Linked DNA regions of Homo sapiens: all the other regions are linked to region 3. Evidence: promoter capture Hi-C in 16 types of primary human blood cells and fetal thymus (Javierre and others, 2016). All regions are on one chromosome and are shown on one strand. Each heading gives the region's core, a stretch centred on a gene start or on the middle of the fragment in contact. The rest is flanking DNA. Distances are from core to core; before and after follow the strand shown.

Region 1 (3,103 bases), core at 91-2,590, 390 kb after region 3:
AGCAAAGGTGCAGCTTGAAGAGAAACAAGATCTGAGGGGTGGGAGAAAGGAAAGCTGAGACGGGAGGGCCAGGGCCTGATGCACTGCGACACGCACCCCACCCTTCCTGACTCGGCGCCAAGGAGCTAGGTACCCACCCATCCATTTCTCTGGAAGAGGCGGAGAGGGAGGCTTCCTATAGCTTGGTGGGATTCTCCTTCAGAATCCTGAAAGAATTAAACTTAATGTACTGAGCGACCTAGAAAATCCAAGGACATTTTAATGTGCTTTAAATTCGAAGCCAAAAGTATGTTTTCTTTTCCTCAAGGCTTCCATAGTGTGCCTGGGTTTGGGTGGGGGAGAAATGTTCATGCTGGGAGGCACAGTGTGCCCTAGCCCACTAGGCAAGCCAGCACGGAGCCCATCTGGAAGGGAGTACAGTCAGTGGTTGGTGGGGAGGGGGCTTGCTGAACAGGTAGAGACCTTTTGCTTTTACGATCCAGAAGTGGGGCAGGTACTTACCCCCAGACTCGTGAACGATGTAGAGTGCGAACTCACTGGGGCCATCTTCCACCTGCACAGGCAGTCACAGGAAGTCAGATCACGGTGCTTGGAGATGGGAGAGAACTGAGAGGGTCCCCTGACAGTAACTACACCCCCAGTAACACACACGCAAGTTGCAAGGAACCTGTCCTCTCCCAACCTCCTCTTGCTTGAAATCCGAGAAACCAAAGCTCAGCAGAGGGACCCTTGCTAGACCTTCTGCCCAGGCAGCTTCTGCCACGGGCAGCTTTCCCCAGAACCCCACCCCCAACAGAATAGCAGACCACTGGCATCCTGGGGCAAGGCTGCTCCTGACCAGGCTTACCCTAAATTTGTTCAGCAGCAGGGTGAGCACCTGCAGGGTTGTCATGGTGCTGTTGACCCTCACATTGGTCACGGATCCATAGGCTGGAGTAAACACGGAGGTCTGTACCAGGAAGGGAGAGAAGTTCAGGTCAGGCCCAGAGGGGACAAGGGACTGACATCACAACGGTGAACAGACCAAGGCAGCAGGTGACGCTGAGATCTGGGAACACCTGCACCTGTCCATTCACGCTGATGCACACATAAGCTGTTCCCAGACCTGGGAGACACTCCGGGAAGCTGTAGTAGTGCACTCCTTCCAGAGGCCTAAGGAAGATGTCTACACACCCAGAAGGGCCAGCTCTCTGGACCCGAGGAACCAGGGCCATGGAAGTCATTCACAAGGGTGGGGGAATCAGTCTCTCCATCACTCTTTCTATTGATTAAGTCACCAGTTGTCTGTTGATTCTAAGGCTGAAAGTTACCCAATCTGTCTCCTCCTCTTCATTCTCCCAGCAGTGCCTAGTAGAGGCACTGATCACACCATATCAGCTTCCCAGCTTGTTCCCTTCTGGTCTCAGTCCCTCTAATCCGTAGTCTGCACCGCTGCCTACAGGAACGGACTTCTAAAACCCTTGCACCTCCAAGTGACGTCTAGCCCAGCTGCATCCATACAGTCTCGGCTCCCTTCCCTACCCTGCTCCATACCATCTGAATCAGAGTCTGCGTCTGTAGAACACAAGGCGAAGCGATCTGTGCAGTTCAATGTGAGAAGCACTGTTTGAAAGCGCGGGTCTAAAAGTATCTGAAGGCTTCCTGGGGACTGTGCAATAACATCTGTAGTTCTTCTCATTGTCTCGCACGTATGACACTATGGTTGCCTAACAAGCACCATGTGCTCCAGTCACAGAGCTTCTTCACAATTTGGCTGGGGGGTGGGGGGACACATTATATTTTTGCAGGTATCTTGCCTTTGCCTAAGAGACACCATATATGAAATCAACCAGGACTCTGCCTGACACATAATAGGTCCGTCCTCAATAAACCCTAGCTGTGTATTGAACCCGCTAAGATTTTACATACAATCATTGATTTAATATTCATAACAACCCTTTGAGGCAGCTATAACTAGTCCCCTTTTCTTAGAAAGGAATCAGAGGCTTTAGGAGGTTAACCAGCTTGTTCAGAGTTACCCACCTAGAAAAGACAGAGCCCTGACTCAAAGGATTCCATGATTCCTGAAAACCTACATGTTACCCCCCTGGTGCTGGTGCCTCCCAGCGAATGTGACTCCTCTGCAGGTGAACCTCTCCTTGCTTTTCAAACTCAAGTTTAGATTCGCATATTCCTCCTCTGAGATCCTAGCTCTGTTTTCCCAAGGAGGTAGCTAAGGCTCAGAGAGCTCAAGGACCTATTCAGTATCCCCGCTCTGATAAGTCCAGGCACACCTGGGAGCCATTGTGAGTTCAGGTCCAGACCATCACAATGAAGCGAATATCTCAATAAAGTGAGTCACACAAATGTTTTGGTTTCCCAGGGCATATACAAGATATGTTTATACTATACTGTAGTTTCTTAAGGGTGAGACAGTACTACATCTAAAAAATATGCATGCCTTAATTAAAACTACTTTATTGCTAAAAAATCTGACACAGAGACACAAAGTGAGCACATAGTGTTGGAAAACGGCACCGATAGACTTGTTCAACACAAGGTTGCCACACACCTTCAATTTGCAGAAACCGCAGGTGCAGCAAAAAAAAAAAAAAAAGTGCACATTTTTGCAAATGGAAGGTTGCTGAACAGCAACCTTCCATTTGCAAAAATCTGCAAGGTACAGTAACAAGAAGCACAATAAAATGAAGCACGCTGTGCCAGAGTCAGACTCAACCTCGACCTGCTTCCCCCAGCTCGATTCTAGTTGAGGTGCAGAATGACTGAGTTATACAGAAAGCCAGGATTAGGATTAGGCTTTCTTGTCCAAAGAAATATGGAAGAGAGGGCCAGGTGCAGTGGCTTACGCCTGTAATCCCAGCACTTTGGTAGGCAAAGGCGGGCGGATCACGAGGTCAGGAGTTCAAGACCAGTCTGGCCAATATGGTGAAACCCTGTCTCTACAAAAAATACAAAAATTAGCCAGGCATCGTGGTGCGCACCTGTAGTCCCAGCTACTCAGGAAGCAGAAGAATCGCTTGAACCTAGGAGGTGGAGGTTGCAGTGAGCCCAGATCGTGCCACTGCACTCCAGCCTGGCTACAGAGTGAGACTCCATCTCAAAT
Region 2 (3,505 bases), core at 1,006-3,505, 410 kb after region 3:
TCTTGTTTAGACTTCCCTCCCAAGAGAACGGGAACATGGTGGGGGTGAGGGCGGGGGGTGCTTTACCACTAGTTTCCAGCCCCAAGCATAAGCCTGGCACATCGCAGGAAGTCCATACATGGTTGTTAAATTGCTGAATAAATACAAGAAGCTTCTAGACTCCCTCCAAGTCTACTCTTCCAAAGCTGTGCACATACAGCAGGAATAAATAATATAAAAGTCTCCAATGGCCACGGAGGTGACTCCGCTGAGGGACATTCGTCACGGGGTCCATGGGGAATGGGGGGCACATTCCTTCTTCGACGGGGCAACTCTTTTGGCGTTTCATAAGAAGCCAGGAATCTGGATTTTTCTGGGCTATATTTCACTACTGAAAGGTGGCTGGCTGGCAGAGGCATGCACTGTCCCTGGAATGCCCGTGTGGTCGCTCACCACCCCGGCCCTCTGCAGCTAGCTGGGGCTGTGGGCCTCATTCTGACCACTGAGCTGCGAACAAAAGTGTTGTGGGTCCCTTCCAGGCCAGCAGCTTTAAGAGCCAGTGCACAACCCTCCAGTTCTCCTGTCTCCACCGTGGTGACCCAGAAAGCCATGTGTTTCAAGCCATGTGCAGCTACTCGATGGTCAGCCTGGGTCCCTGAGTGACTGTGGACCAGAACTGTCTGCCAACCCACACTGGATATGGACTGAGAGGGAGAAATAAACCTCTGCCGTGACAAGCCACTGGTGTATCAGGGATTTGTTACTGCAGCATAACCCAGACCAAGTCTCATGCAATACATAATCCAATCAAAACAACAAATATTTAATGTAATATTTTGTATTTAAATATGTTTATAAATAAACTAAACATCTTTGCAAGACAGATACACCTAGTGGTGAGACAGGAATAATACAGATGGTCACAGGAGAATAGAAAATTCTAGGCAGCCATTTCACATGACCAGCAAAAGGAAACTGTTAAAATAAGGGTCATAAGAAGCTAGGGGTCATAAGACTCTAAAAAAATCAGAGTGTGGGCCAAGCTGGCTAAGACCAACTGAAACCAACGTGGTGCTGGATTCGACCTAGGTTTCTTCTAGGACCTCACTATACGCTCATTAACCAGGCAACTCTCTGAGATGCTAAATTACACACCCACAGGCACCATGACAGTTCCAGAACACCCATATTTCATGTAAAAATGGGTGGCACCACAGTTTCAAGAAAGTTCCACCTTTTTCCAGGAATCTTCTTGGATATTGCACCCCTTGGTTAAAGAAACCCATAAAGGAAGCAGCTCCCAACCCCCTTGCACACTCTCCCTTCTTGAGTGTGTACTTTCACTATTTTCTGACTCATATGGGAAGGAATTCAAGGAGTCAAGAGCCTGGACATCAGCTGGGGTCGAAGTCCCACCAGTGTTTGGGGACCTCTCCTAGTCCACTGGACAGTGAGGCTCCAGTTTGTGACTTCTGATTCACGACACGGCATGATTTACATTTACTTCCGGTCTCCTATAGTGTGTGGGGAAGAAGTTCATTTTGCCATATGTAGTAGGAACACTTAGAAGTGGAATTTCCCATAAGTCAGGCAGTGGTTACTTATTCATAGAAAATGCTTCCTAAAGAGCTCTGGGGTGCTTCGTTGCATGCCTTCTCCTCTCTGGGCCTTAATTTTCCCATCTGTACAACAAGAATATTGACCTCCAATGGGTTTGAAATTTTCTTAACTGTGGAACTCTTTGTTCAAATAGAAAATGTATGCAAAACAGATTAAAGGGGATTGCCGTGGTTGACAGTGAGGTGGTGGTGGCAGAGAGCCTCATCTTCTAGAGCTCTGGGTAATACTACTTGAAAAGCATGGTTCTCCCTCACTGGCCTTCAGGAGTGCTTTTCCCCTGCACGCCTGCTTATTTATAGGACACAACCAACGTGTTGAGTGTCTCCGGCCATGACTGAATGGCACCAGCTGGGGGCACCTGCTCAGAGGAGACAGACCAGGAGGAAAGTAAAGGAGAGTCCTAGGCTGCAGATGGCAAAGTGAAGGGATAAAGGGCAAGGTGGGCTTGTAGGGTAAACAGCTGGGGCAGAGAACGGGGCACACCATCCCAGGGGAGGGCAGGGGGGTCAGCGAGCAAAGCTAAGGGAGGTGGCTCAGGGCCCACTGCAGCAAAAGGAGGTTTTTCCAGCTTGCTGGGCTGGGTCCTGAGCCTTACAGGGTGGGAACCTTGGCTCCACACAAAGAGAGTCTCTCCTTTGAGAGAGGCACACATTTCTGTGTCCTCCAGCACTCATTAGCTTCATGGCCCTAAGCAAGGGAAGGAGATGAAAATATTTTATCCCCAACATATATTTCTTTGACGTATTCTTAAATGGCTGCCACTTGCCCATCCTGAAAGAAGTGGCTAGCAGAGTGTCTTCAGTGGGAAAATTTGCATCTGTAGAGAATCTCCATTAATGCAGCCAGGCCCCCTCCCCTTTCCAGATCTTTCCCCACATCCAGGAGAGACTGAGAATCCACACCTTTAAAAGTCTCTTTGAGGGAGGCTTCATCTACATAACAAGGTCACTTTCACTAGCCAAGCCTCTCCTCCTTCCATAGCCTGTTTCACCAGAATCTAAGCCCCATTCTTTCTGTAACCTCAAAATGGTATATAAGTCTCTGTTACTCACTGGGAAGCTGGACCATCATTCTGAAGGCTCCCATGCATGCACCTTAAGTACATGTGTATGACTTTTCTCCTATTAATCAATCTGCCTCATGTCTGTGATTTTTAGTGAAACTTTAAGGGGCCAAGAGCCTATGGCTCCCACAAAAGTCACTTGGTCTCTCTGGTTCTCAGAGCCAACACCGCAAGAAGACCTGTTTTTCCTGAGCTCCAGGATCACTCACAGAATTCCACTGCAGATCTCAACACTGTGCTTGCGCCCTATCCCCTTTACCAGACTTTCATTCATTTTGATGAATTTAATCGTTTTGACATCACATCTACAGGAAACTGCATGAGTACCTAAGGGGTGTCTGAAAGACAGCTGTGGCAGCAGCAAACTGCAAGGGGGAACACGCACACCCAACAGGAGAGGAAAGGGAGCCATCTCTCTATTTGGAGCATTTTCCTGGAACAGCCTTTTGCATTGAATCTCCAAGTGCACTGGGTGGGGCCTTTGAGAATCTCTGCTGGAGTATTTTTCAGTCTTTTATAAACAGCACAACCTTATCTTGAAATTAGATCCTAGGTAGAAGCCCAATACACAAATGGATTAAAGCGAGGCTGCATGGGTGGCAGCAGGAGTCAGGAGAGGATGGGCTGGGGCTGGCCTGCCACCCAGGCTCAGGCTCAAAAAACCACAGAGTGACAGATGCAGCTGGACAGGCCAAGTCGGCCAGCAGGCTCTCCCCTCCTCCAAGCCGTGCCATTCTGCTGGGAAAGTACAGCTTTCTTTGTCTGGGCCCGTTCCCCTCCCCCAGGTCCCAGGACATAGCTCAGGCCTCCACGCCTGTTTCCCAGGCTGGAGGACACTCTGTC
Region 3 (3,583 bases), core at 46-2,545:
CAGCTTGGTAAAGTCTAAATCTTTTTGGTCCAGTTAGGAGCTGGGGTGGGGTGGAAGGGAACTGATATTCCCTGCGCACCTGCAGTATGTCTGGGACTATTACCAGTCATTTACGGAGCGCTTCCTCTGTGCCAGGTACTGGATTAGGCACTTCATTAAAGGCTCAGTGAGAACTGCGACCTGCCCATGCTCATGGAAAAGAGTCGTGGGGCTGGAATTCAGGTCCAGATCAGCATTAGGAACTAGCTTCCAAATGCTGAGGGCTCCCTCGCGTCCTCACACCTAGCGTGGAAGTGTTCCCTGGTGTACATTCTGCTGGGAGGGAGTGCAGCCCCTCCATTTAGGAAAAGCCTCTCCTGGCCTGGGTTCTGTTCCTTCCCTTTAATTTCCTCTGGGGACTGTCCTGAGAATGTAAGCTGCCCAGGTGCCGTCTGAGCCACCAGATGGGCCTGGGCTCACCCATGACTCATGGACCAGACTGAAGCCAACCCTCCATTTTCAGCTGGGGAAACTGAGGCCCAGACAGACGGTAGAGTGAGCTGGTGGTCATGTCTGGACAGAACTCAGGCCTCTGGACCCGCTGACGTGCACCCTTCCCCACGGCTCACAGCTGGCTGCTCCGAGGTGCCCTCAGAGTTCTGTGAGCATGACTCATCTGCCTCTCCCTCCCTGTGCGACCTGCAGAAGGAGCCTAAGGAAGAGGTGGCACAAGAAACGCGGCCCAGTGAAGGGGGCTCCGGAGCCTCGGAGCCCAGATCTTGAAGTGGAGGGGAAACCTTGGGCCTTCTCCTCCCAGGGAAGACGCCTTGCAGGCGGCACGCGGGAAGTCTCCGTTTCCGACAGGGGTCGCGGCCGCCGCGAGGGGTCCTGGACGCTTGCCCACCAGGGTACCCACCGGCCACTGGGAGCCCAGGGCACGCCCCACCGCAGTTCTGCCCTCCCTGACAGGGTCCTGGACACCCCCAGTCCTGTCCGGGCCGCCCCGACGGGCCCTCGGCGCCCCCGCCCAGGCCTCTGCCGTCCAAACCGGGTCCCGGACGCACCTCAGCCCGCGCTCCACCCGTGCCCCGCCCGCGCTCACCGCGCCACGCTCGAAGTCGTTGTAGAAGGGCTTGTCCAGCAGGTGCTTCTCGCTGCAGCCCGCCGAGCCCACGAGGCTGAGGTAGATGTAGTCGTCAGTGCCGGCGAACCACTGGCTGCCAGTGGCCACGGTGACCGTGTAGGAGGGCATGGCGCGGGCCGCGGGAGCAGCGAGCGCCGGGAGCCTCGGCGCGGCGGTCCAGGTGTCCGCATCTAGCGCCGCAGCCTCCTCCCACCACTGGTCCCTGGCCCCGGTCCCGGCCCCGCCCCGGTCTGGCTCCAGGCTCCCGGCTGCCCCCGCCCCCGCCCCCGCCCCCGCCCCCGCCCCCGCAGTACTTCTCTCCCACTCTTCACGCGGCGCCGACTGGGCGGGACCTCGCCTCGGGCGGGGCAGGGGCCTCGCTCCTGGGTCTCTCCTCAGCGAGGTGTCTGTTCCTGCAGCCAGGGGACTGGGGCAACCTCGGCTGCCACCCCTCATCCATTCGTTCACTCGTTCTCTCCTGAATTGCTTCCACCCTTTGCCCTGCCTGCCTGCCTCGGCTTCGCCCAAGGCCAGGCTCCTGTAGGCCCTGGGGTGGAGCTGCGGGGACTCCCTACAAATCTAGGCACAGCCTCTGCTCTCCCCAAGTTCTCAGTGCCACTTGCGGTACTTGGAGCAGGGGTGCTCCGGGAGTCTGCAGAGGAAGAGCGACCCATGAGAGAATCAGAAGGGCTTCCTGGAGGAGGCCACCCCAGCGCTGATACTGAGGATGGATTCTGGAGCACAGAGGCTCCTTCAGCGCGGGCTTCTTCACTGGCTGGACCTGCGGCTCCTGGCGGGGGCAGGCGGGCGCCGAGACCGCGCCCAGGCCCAGAGATGGCCAGTGGTCGCGGGAGGCAGGCGGGACGGCACATCTGGACATGCGGGGCTGTCTAGGGGAGGCCAGGGGTCACGGGTCGGCTCTCTGAATCGCGGCGGGCAAATGCCTGGAAGGGTGTGGAGAAGGTTTCGCGCGCTCCTGGGCGGCTTCCCGCGGCTGGGGCCTGACCCCCAGGTTCCCGCCCACTCCTGGCGCCCGCCTCTCCCAGCCCCGCCGGCAGCGCAGGGTCTGACGGGCACACAGTCGCGTGTATTGATCTCGGCTAAGTTTAAACACTAGCTCACCGTGCGTGGGGCGGCGGGGATGTGAAGTCCCCAAAGGCGGCTGCCTACATTCTCACCAACGCTTCATGTCTGTGAAGCAGCAGAGTCCCTGTAGCATCTCCTCATACTGTCTTGGGTTTGTGCACCTGGCAAATGGCTTTGAACATCTTTTCACATGCTTGTTGGATATCTGTATATTTTTGGAGAGATGTATATTCAGATGCTTGACTCTTTGGAAAACTGGGCTATTTATCTTTTTTATCATTGAATTGCATTATTTATATATCCTGGATAGAAGTCTCTAATCGGATACATGACTTACAGACATTTTTATTGCTTCTGCGGGTTGTGTTTTCACTTTCTTGATGATGTTTGAAGCACAAAAGTATTTAACTTTAAGTCCAATTTCTTTTGTCGCTTGTGATTTTGGGGTCCTATCTGAGAAACCACTGCCTACAATAACATCTTAAAGATTTACTCCTAGGTTTTCCTCTAGGATTATTATAGTTTTAGCTTTTCATTTACATCCGTGACCCATTTTGAGTTAGTTTTTATGCATGGAGCGATAGAAGAATTCAAATTCATTGTGTTGCATGTGCATGTCCGGTTGTCCATGCATCATTTGTTGAATTCATTATTCTTTTCCCATTGCGTTGTCTTGACACCTTATTAAAAAGTAATTCATTATAAACATAACGGTTTATTTCTGGACATTGATTCTAGTCCACTGATCTGTAATGTACATGCTATACAGTGCCACACTGCTTGATTACCGCAGTGCTATAGTAAGTTTTGAAATTGGAAAATGTTAATCCACCAACGCTGTTCTTTATTTTTCAATATTGTTTTGGTTATTCTGGATCCTTTGAGATTCCATATAAATTATAGAATCAGCTTGTCAATTTCAGCCAAAAAGCAAGCTAGGATTTTGATAGGGGTTGAGTTGAAGCTGTAGATCAATTTGGGGAATATTGTCACTTTAACAATATTAAGTCTTCTGATCCATAGAATATGTTTCAGCTTATTTAAATCTTTTCTTTTCTTTTCGACTCTTTGGAGTCTCCCTCTGTTGCCCAGGCTAAAGTGCAGTGGTACAATCTCGGCACACTGCAACCTCTGCTTCCCAGGTTCAAGTGATCCATTTACTTAAATCTTTTCTGATTTATTTCAAAATATTTTGTAGTTTTCAGTGCACTTTTTATTTCTAAATAATTTATGTTTGATACTATTGTAAATGGAATTTTAATTCATTTTGAGATTGTTAATTGCTAGTATATAGAAAAACACTTGATTTTTGTACATTCATTTTATATTCTGCAAACTTGCTGAACTTGTTTATTAGTTCTAATGGTTTGTGTGTGTGTACATGTGCACATTTTC
Region 4 (3,200 bases), core at 190-2,689, 260 kb before region 3:
ATGAGATTACTTTCTTGATTTTTTTAGATTATTGTTGGTATATAGAAATGCTACTGGGTTTTGTATGTTGATTTTGTATCCCGCAACTTTACTGAATGTGTTTATCAGTTCTAATCGTTTTTTGGTGCAGTCTTTCTGTTTTTCCAAATACAAGATCATATTATCTGCAATCAAGGATAATTTGACTTCCTTCTTTCAAATTTGTATGCCCTTTATTTCTTTCTCTTGTCTGATTTCTCCAGCTAGGACTTCTAGTACTAGTACTTCTTTTCATTTAGGGTTCCTGATGATAATTCTCTCAGCATTTGTCTGAAAACTTATTTTACCTTTTTAATTTTGAGAAATGTTTAATTCTTTTTTTTTTTTTTTGAGATGGAGTCTTGCTGTTGCCCAGGCTGGAGTGCAGTGGTGTGGTCTCGGCTCACTGCAACCTCCACCTCCTGGGTTCAAGCGATTCTCCTCCCTCAGCTTCCCGAGTAGCAGTAGCTAGGACTACAGGCATGAGCCACCATGCCCAACTAATTTTTGTATTTTTAATAGAGATGGGGTTTCACCATGTTGGCCAGAATGGTCTTGATCTCTTGACCCCGTGATCTGCCTGCCTCGGCCTCCCAAGGTGCTGGGATTACAGGCATGAGCCACCGCGCCTGGCTGAGAAATGTTTAATTATTTAGAAATGTTATAAGACTAGATTCATCAATTAATATTTTCCCACATTTGCTTTCTGTTTGGATTTTTCTTTAGCTGATCTATGTGCAAGTTAGATATCATGACACTTCCCCTAAGTACTTTATTTATTATGTATCTCCTAAGAATAAGGGCCACCTTTTACATGATTATGATACAGTTACCATACTCATTTATGATTGATACACATTATGTCATCTATATTCATATTTCCCAGGTCTTAATAATGTGCTTAATAGCATTTTATATTGTTTTTAATCTGGGATCCAATCAAGAATGATGCATTGCATTTCGTTGTAATGTTTTCATAGTCTCCTTTTATACAAAACTGTTTCTAAGCCTTATTTGGACATGCATGTAAAATATTTTTGAAGAATATAGATCAGTTGTTTTGTAAAATATTCTTCAATTTGGAGATTTGGCTGTTTCATTATGATTAGATGGAATTTGAACATTTTTGGTAGGAATACTACACAGATGATTTATTCTTCTCAGTGCAACACATCAGAAGGCACATAATGTTAATTTGTAGTAGTTTCTTTTTCGTTTTTTTTTTTAAAGAAAATTTGCAATTTTAGTTGGTATTTCCTCATTAGTCCAAGAGTATTTTAATATATTTTGAAAATGTTCTGGTGGCAGAGGCTTTTTGGTTTTTCTTTTTCTTTTCTTTTCTTGTTTTTAGAGGTGGGAGTCTCACTATGTTACTGAACTCCTGGGACCAAGGGATCTTCTCATTTCAGCCTCCCACGTAGCTGGGACTATGTGTGCAGCACCATGCCGGGCTTGATTTTTCATTGTTTTTAATTTCTAGTTTTATTGCATGGAACTCAGAGAATATTGTTTGTATTTCTACTTTATAGCATTTTATTCTTTGGGATCTAATAGCACTTTTCATGAATATATACCTCAGAAGACAGTTTATTCTCTATCAAAAAGGTAAAAGTTTGCTAGATATTTATAAGATAGACCTTATTAAAGTTTTTTTTTTTTTTTGTCAACTTGATCTGTCTTAGAATGAGAATGGTAATAGATGAAGGTCTATTATTCATAGGTTTCTGTGTATTTCTCTTTTCATTTCTCATACTTTTTGCTGTAAGAAAGTGGTAGTTGTGTAATTTGGTACATAAATATTAATAACATATTTTCACTGTGTTGCTAGTTACAAAAGTAGTGAAATGTTTCATCTCTATCACATTCACTGACTTTCCCCTTGAATTTTCCTTGCCTGATATCAGGCCCATACCTACTGGTATCTTCTTGGTTTCATTTGCTTGGTATACCTTTTCCCATGTCTCTATTTATTAACTTTTAAGTTACTTTGTTTTACATATTTCCTTTATATACACTATAGAGTTGGTTTTTGCTTTGTGAGCCAGCTTGAAATTTTAAAACAGGTAACTTAATCACGTTTATATTTATTGATATGACTTCATATTTGGTCTTAAATGTCTTATTTTGTTATACTTACAGTTTCCTTCTCTATGCTTTCTTTTGTGTGTATCTGTATATATGAATGTGTAAGGGTGTATTTTTTGGTATTTCAGAAGGCTTTTGCATTTTGTTTTATTGATTCACTTTACATTAATACTATTTATCATGTTCTTGATCTGCCTTTTCCTTATTTAACCTTCTCCTCTTTTATTTGCCAGCTTTAAATATCCTTTGACTCCTAATTACTAAGTGAAAATCAGTGAACTTATTTTTTTCTCTTCTCTCTTCATCCTCTCATTAAAAATTTTTTTCTACTTTTTTAAAGAAAACATAGCCTTTACAAATCATTTTTCTTTCTACTCACTCTTATTTTAGTTTTAATTTTATTCCATCCTTTTTATTTATTCACTTATTTATTTTGAGATGGAGTCTTGCCCTGTCACCCAGGCTGGAGTGCAATGGCACGATCTTGGCTCACTGCAACCTGTGCCTCCTGGGTTCAAGCAATTCTCCTGCCTCAGTCTTCTGAGTAGCTAGGATTACAGGCGTGTGCCACCACACCCGGCTAATTTTTTTTTTGTATCTTTACTAGAGACGGGGTTTCACCATGTTGGCCAGGCTGGTCTCGAACTCCTGACCTTGTGATCCACCCACCTTGGCCTCCCAAAGTGCTGGGATTACAGGCATGAGCCACCATGCCCGGCCAATTGTATTCCATTCTTATGATCAGTCTTTTTGCTGTAGGTTTCCCCATACATTTTGGTTAGAAGAAGCTCATCTGAAGTCCTCAAGAAAGGCTTGTAGGTACAGTAATTCTTGAATTTTTCGATGTTCAAACCCTTTTCTTTAGACTTAACATTTTTATTTGTTTTTACCATTATGTATGATATTAATTGTAGGTTTTTCTTCTATTTTTGTATTTTCCTATTTTCATTGATACGTAATAGATATATTTTCAGGGTACATGTGATAATTTAATACATGAATATAATTTGTAAACATCAGATCAGTGTAATTGGGATATCCATAACCTTAAATATTCATCTTTTTTTAATGCTAGAAACATTAGCCTTAATCCTTAC

Evidence for each region. Contacts are between HindIII fragments. The CHiCAGO score rates a contact against its expected background, and 5 or more counts as called.
Region 1: a contact is called between a fragment that was not itself captured here and the fragment with the promoter of ALOX5 in region 3, in 1 of 17 cell types (erythroblasts). The highest score is 5.1, in erythroblasts.
Region 2: a contact is called between a fragment that was not itself captured here and the fragment with the promoter of ALOX5 in region 3, in 1 of 17 cell types (M0 macrophages). The highest score is 5.3, in M0 macrophages.
Region 4: a fragment that was not itself captured here is called in contact with the fragment with the promoter of ALOX5 in region 3 in 1 of 17 cell types (total B cells); the score reaches 5.2 in total B cells.

Annotation. Positions count from the first base shown.
Region 1 is chr10:44,987,120-44,990,222 of GRCh38, reverse strand. It overlaps RASSF4 (Ras association domain family member 4), which reads right to left. Exons shown (of 11, transcript NM_032023.4): 7 at 848-949; 8 at 502-553. Among named protein-coding and RNA genes, the nearest start is that of DEPP1, 9.9 kb to the right of the region's middle. The HindIII fragment of the contact is 6,881 bases long and covers 1-3,103 here.
Region 2 is chr10:44,964,314-44,967,818 of GRCh38, reverse strand. All of the region lies in intron 1 of RASSF4 (Ras association domain family member 4), which reads right to left. LOC105378281 (a long non-coding RNA gene) reads left to right here. Exons shown (of 2, transcript XR_945915.4): 2 at 1-720. Among named protein-coding and RNA genes, the nearest start is that of RASSF4, 6.3 kb to the right of the region's middle. RefSeq lists enhancers at 1,244-1,538, 1,549-1,818, 3,190-3,289, 3,410-3,469, 3,480-3,505. The HindIII fragment of the contact is 4,203 bases long and covers 154-3,505 here.
Region 3 is chr10:45,371,928-45,375,510 of GRCh38, reverse strand. ALOX5 (arachidonate 5-lipoxygenase) reads right to left here and starts at 1,295. Exons shown (of 14, transcript NM_000698.5): 1 at 1,082-1,295. The coding sequence starts at 1,231. RefSeq lists enhancers at 308-916, 917-1,527. The HindIII fragment of the contact is 7,754 bases long and covers 1-3,583 here.
Region 4 is chr10:45,631,696-45,634,895 of GRCh38, reverse strand. The region is part of intron 6 of ZFAND4 (zinc finger AN1-type containing 4); the gene reads left to right. Among named protein-coding and RNA genes, the nearest start is that of ZFAND4, 39 kb to the left of the region's middle. The HindIII fragment of the contact is 5,595 bases long and covers 1-3,200 here.